Linked DNA regions of Homo sapiens: region 1 is linked to region 2. The links are contacts of gene promoters, found by promoter capture Hi-C in human tissues and cell types (Jung and others, 2019). All regions are on one chromosome and are shown on one strand. Each heading gives the region's core, a stretch centred on a gene start or on the middle of the fragment in contact. The rest is flanking DNA. Distances are from core to core; before and after follow the strand shown.

Evidence for each region. Contacts are between HindIII fragments. The study calls those that stand out against the background at their distance.
Region 1: a fragment that was not itself captured here is called in contact with the fragment with the promoter of ABCC3 in region 2 in 2 of the 25 tissues and cell types used here (liver and thymus).

Annotation. Positions count from the first base shown.
Region 1 is chr17:50,217,561-50,220,553 of GRCh38, reverse strand. No RefSeq gene overlaps it. Among named protein-coding and RNA genes, the nearest start is that of TILAM, 4.4 kb to the right of the region's middle. RefSeq lists enhancers at 1,481-1,530, 1,532-1,826 and a silencer at 1,532-1,826. The HindIII fragment of the contact is 4,120 bases long and covers 1-2,993 here.
Region 2 is chr17:50,633,358-50,636,130 of GRCh38, reverse strand. ABCC3 (ATP binding cassette subfamily C member 3) reads right to left here and starts at 1,250. Exons shown (of 31, transcript NM_003786.4): 1 at 1,150-1,250. The coding sequence starts at 1,194. RefSeq lists a silencer at 1,231-1,280. The HindIII fragment of the contact is 6,790 bases long and covers 1-2,773 here.

The DNA of each region.
Region 1 (2,993 bases), core at 447-2,946, 420 kb after region 2:
ACCGTTGTAAAGATTGAGACAATGTAAGCAGGCGTCTGGACCTGAGTCCTAAGTAAACCCGAGCATTCTGGACACTGTCCTTTAGGTCTTTTTGCAGACATCCAAGTCTGGGGGAAAGAGTCTTTGGGGCAAGGAGCATAAAAAGTTTCTGGGTCCTCTCCTAGCCTCTCCCCTCCAAGCTGGGTGGCTTTGGGGAGAAGCTCTCTGAGCTTCTGGGTTCTCGTCTATAAAATGGGGATACTAGCATTTTCCTCACTGGACTTTGAGCAGAACAGCTGGGACAGAGCTGTTGGACATGGAGCAGAGCATTGCTTTTGTTTGAGCAAGAGCTAGTGACCCACCAGAAGGCTGTGACAAGGGTCAGCTCAGCTAACACAGCAGGGCTGCGCTGGACAAGCAGGGCTCACAGGATCCTAGGGGCCTCCCTGGATTCCCTATGGGATTTCTTTATCTGCCATGGAATGCAGCCTCGGCAGCAACGGGAGTGTTCTCACACTCAACATCAGCAGCCCTTACTGGGCATTGAGCTCATACATCAACCACCCACTTTAAACAAGTTTTAAAACAACAGTGTATTTCTAAAATCATTTTTGAAATGCAACTGTGTAAAAGTAACATGAAGGATAATTGTTACATATCAGGGAGGGTGATGATACCTTCTGAAAATTTCCGCCAGTACGTCTGCGCCCTGTGTGACAGTAGGAGCCATAAGGAGTTTTCATATCCTGTCAGTTTCTTTTCTTATTCCTTATTCGTACCAAATTAGAAAAATCCTAAACCACAATTATAGGTCATTAGAAATGGCAGCAAATGTTTGGTGGCTCTGACAGATGGTTCTGGATTCAGACCAAACAAGAATTCAGAAATCACAGACCTCTTTCTTCCTAAAGACTGCTCTCCCCTCTCTCGGACATTAGGTCAACAGGTACAAAGCTTTCAAAAGCCAGAAGACTAAGTATTTCACCCAGGGAGAGGGGGGCGGCGGTGGGGGGGAGCAAGCAGAGTCATAATCCTTTCTTTGGTTGAATTTGACTCCGGAAAGAATTCTTTAAGTTCTGAGTAATGTTTGGATGTGGTTTTTAAATAGTCTTAATAATATGTCACCGATTCCTTTCTCCTGCTCAGAAACAAAATCACCAAGTGCTGAAAAAGAATCAAAATAAAAATGGAGCAGTCATACTGCTGTTTGGTTTTAAGAAATTCTGCTAACTTGCTCCTCAACAGTAAATATTGTAATTGGTGATGTCTGGACAATACAGATATTGAATATATTGCCATTTGAGCAAGTCACTCAGGATCTCAGAAGTGGCCTTGAGTGGAGAAATGGGGGGGGTTTTGGTTTTGTTTTGTTTTGTTTGAGAAAGAGTCTCACTCTGTTGCCCAGACTGGAGAGCAGTGGCATGATCTCAGCTCACTGCAGCCTCTGCCTCCCAGGCTCAAGTGATCCTCCCACCTCAGCTCCTCACCACCCCACCCCAGTAGCTGGAACCACAGGCATGCACCACCATGTCTGGATGATTTTGTTTGTACTTTTTGTGAGACAAGGTTTTGCCATGTTGCCCTGACTGGTCTTGAACTCCTGGACTCAAACAATTTACCCGCTTTGGCCTCCCAAATGCTGGAATTTCAGGCATGAGTCACCAGACCCAGCAGCACATCATTGATTTTTAGCCAGCTTCACATGGGGCCACAAGAATGTTTGAAAAAGATGAAATGAAACCATTTCCTTAAGTCATTGACTAGGCCACTGAAGATCAGTTCTAAGATCTTAAACAGCTTGCTCAGATGACAATATATGTAATAACTGACAGTTCAAACCTCACCTTAGAGGAATAAAATGTCATTATCTTTTTTAAAATTTTGGTATTACACAAACTATCACTGGGCAAAAACTTACATTTTTCAATGAGGAGTATAAGATAGCCGGATTTATTAAAATCAAACTATTTTCTCATAATATTTGCAATTGACACCACGTGATATCCAACACTGTCATTTGATAAAGGAAATTTGCCAAAAGTTGGTTTTTCATTCTCTGTGAGAGAAATGTGTATCATTAATAACACGGCTGTGTTACAATCTTCTCAGATAGTATTACTTTGTAGCTGTGTTTTACTAAGAGGAGTGCACTTTTAAATGCTGCCTCTGTCATTTTGTTTTTCTTCCTGCCTTTACTGGGGGAAAATCCATTAATTTTGTCCTGGAAAGCTTATTTTGCTCTTGTTCTGGAAAAAAAAGAAAAGTCTCTGATGGTTTACCAGAAAGGTCACTGTGCTGTGTTTGAAAATGATGTGAAAATCTTGATGGCTTTATGCCACTATTTGACAAAGTTTCATAACACACAACTCACTGGGGATTAAAATGGAATAGATCACCAGTCCAGTAAAGTTAAGTTCAGATCTTCAACATCATACTCACTATTTACACTTTTTCAGCTACTTGTGTGAAATTGTCAGATGTGTCCCAGTTCTCAGAGATTTACATATTTTTGAACTAGATGCTTGTTCACTATGTATTTACTTTTCTTCTTTCTTCCTTTTTTTTTTTTTTAGCCCAGCCATATGCTTGGACACTACGTATTTACTTTTATAACACTATTCTCAGTTGTAGTATTTGGGTTACTATTTTTCTCACTCTTCTTAGGCTTTAATTAACCACTTTTGAATCACTGGCTTATTATTTGGGTTGAGGATATTACACATCACAAAAATAATAACCAAAAACCCATAAGTGACATGAAAATATGTCTCTGGAGATGATCTGCCCAAGCTGGATCAGCCAAATTCAAATTAGAGGATGCACAACGTTGGAGAATGTGACAGTTATTAAGAACAAAATGGGGCTGGGTGCAGTGGCTCACGCCTGGAATCTCAGTGCTCTGGGAAGCTGAGGCAGGAGGATTACTTGAGCCCAAGAGTTCAAGACCAGCCTGGGCAACAATGTGAGAGCTTATCTCTAAAAAAAATTTAAGGATTAGCTGTACATGGTGGCGT
Region 2 (2,773 bases), core at 1-2,500:
ATGACCACAGAGAAGCACCTTTAATCTGAGCTCCCTCTGTAAAACGGAGACCACATGATCACTTGCCTCATAGAGGCAAGTAAGTTTTGCAAGTTGGTAAGAAAGCTCCTAGGCTGTATGCACTTAGCTCACCTGAACTGTGCTGGAGGCTGGAGTCAGCAGGCTGAAGAGCAGCCTGTCTTAGAAAGAGATTTGGAGTGAGAGTCACCAAAGGCTTGATTTTCTTTTCTTATTTATTTATTTTTTTAGAGACAGGGTCTCACTCTTTCGCCCAGGCCACAGTGCAGTGGTGCGATCATAGCTCACAGTAATCTAAAACTCCTGGGCTGAAGTGATCCTCCCACCTCTGCCTCCCAAAGGGTGGGATTACAGGCGTGAACCACTGCACCTGGCCTGTAGCCTGTTTTTCTATCCCAGCTCTGCCTTCATTGAACTGGGTAACTTTGGGCAAGTCCCTTCCTCTCTCTGGGCCTCCCTTTCTCCATCTGTGAGAAGGGAGTTGGACTACAGGAATCCTGACACCCTGCACCTGTCTCCAGACTGGGGTCTGCTTCTCCCTTCTGAGTCCGGAGTGGTGGGGATGGCCTGCTCTCAGACCTCAGTCTTACCTAGAGAAAAGAAGGTGGCAGGAAACCTTCCTAAGAAGGGTGGGACACTGCACAGCCGGCCTCCCAAAACACCTGGTTGAGCAGGTGCTCTGGATGCCCTGGGGGCAATCCATGCCCAGGTGGGCAACCGAGTCCTAACCTGAGGCAGATGCTGAGGGAAGACCCTCCATCAGGAACCCGCGGCTGATTGCGAAACGCCCCTTCCGCACCCGACGGAGGGGCTGGGATGGAGCCGACTCACCCAGCCACGCACTGTGCCTTTGCGCCCCAGCCGCGCACTCTTCCTCACTTTCCCGGGCTCCCCAGTGCTGCAGCCGGGAAGGGCAGAGCAGGGCAGGTCCCCGACACCGCGTGGGACCCGGCTCCGGGCGGCGCAGCCAACCTCCCTCCCGAGCCCATCGCCCCCTCCCGGGCGCCCAGGCCGTCTCAGGGGCTCCGTCCCGGGATACCTGCCGGCCCCGCGGGAAGGCAGGCGGCGGGGACCGGGCGAAGCCGGCCGACCCTGGCCCCCGCGCAGTGACCCCGGAGCCCCGCGCCTTACCCAGAACTTGGAGCCGAGCTCCCCGGAACCGCACAGGGCGTCCATGGGGCCGAGGCGCGGCTGCAAGGAAGGCGAGCGCGGTCGGACCCAGCGGCGGGCAGAGCGGGCGCCGGAGCCGCCTCCGCCCTCCGCACCCCGCGCTCCGCCCGGACCCGCCCTGCCGAGCCCTACCCCAGTGCCTCTGGGTCCGGTCTCCCTGCCCCCGTCCCGCGGGTTGCGACAGCGCCTCCCTGGGAGGGACTTTGGGGCAGAGGTGGGGGGGCCCTTGGCACGGCGACAGCCCCTGCGAGCGGCCCCTGGGCCAAGCCAGGGGGATGTCTCTCTAAATACCGAGGCTAACAGTCCAGGAGTCGAGTCTATTTCCAAGGGGGAACTGGGATACACAGGCGCTCCCACTCCCGAACAAGTCCGTGGGGCCGATGAGTCATTGAGTAGGGGACGTAGGGAGAGGGATTTAACAATCTTTCCTAGTAAAAAAGGAATCTTTGAGAAGGTCACGTTCCTCTCCGGAGGTCAGTTTCCTCATCTGTAAAATGGGAAGGGCTTCTGTGCTCAATCAGGAAGCTGACCTCTTCCCCATCAGGTTCCAGAGACCACTGGCAGGCGCCACACGGGGAGCACACGGGGTGTGCTCCGCGGGTGTGTACCCGTGAGGCGGGGGTGGGGGCCGCAGCATCGTCCAGCGGGGGCCTCTTATGTCCTCTTAAACTGCTGCCCTCTTAGGCTCTGTGGCTCCCTGACCTTGCCACATCACCTCGGCACGTCTCTGGGCCTCTACTTTCACATCCGTAAAATAGAGACAATCATAGAAGAGAATCTTCCTCCCAGGGTTCTCTGAGGATTGAATGGAAAGGGTAGGCAAAGCGTATTTCCTGGCACACTTAGTGGGCACCCAACATGTGTGAATTCCCTCTGCTTCAGCCTGATCAGGGTTGGGGGGGGAAGGACAGGTGAAGCCCCAGGAGGAGCCCCACGTGAGTGTCCTCGTCCTCGTCCTCCTCCTAAGGCTGAAACTCTACATTCCTGATCTGTAAAATGGGCTTGTCAGTGCTCTCCTTCTCCTGCTTGCCTCAGCTCTCCTTCTCCCGGTATCCCCTCAGATGCGGGGATCCCTCCATCTCTCAATCCCGCTGTTGCCCTGTCTTCCTTAACACAATCCCAGACGCCAACTCAGCACCGCTTGTTGGGGCTCAGAAGGAATTCTCCCTGGCAAATCTTTCCCTGGCCCTTCTCTTCCCTGCCTTTGCCCACAGGTCTGTCCAGTTTCACCCCGGTGACCCCTTTTCTGGCCCTTGTTCTCAAGAGAAGGTGTTTCCTTCCTTGGCTGCTCAGCGGCAGGTGTGGGTGGGAGCCAGTAAGAGTGCAGAAGGGGCAAGCCACCTCCTATCTCTCTGGGCAGCCAGGAGGTCACTAGAAGGGAAGTCTCCTTGGCTATAGGCTATCAGAACCAAGATCTGGCTGGGCATGGGATAGGGGTGGGAGTGGAGAAGATTCCCCTTTCCCAGGCAGTCAGACCAGGGACTTCTACCCCTCCACTGGGCAAGTTCTTTCAGCCCCTTCTTTGTCTGCCCTCTTCCTTTCCACTCATCCACACATACCCTCCCTCTCCTGTCCCCCTACCTTC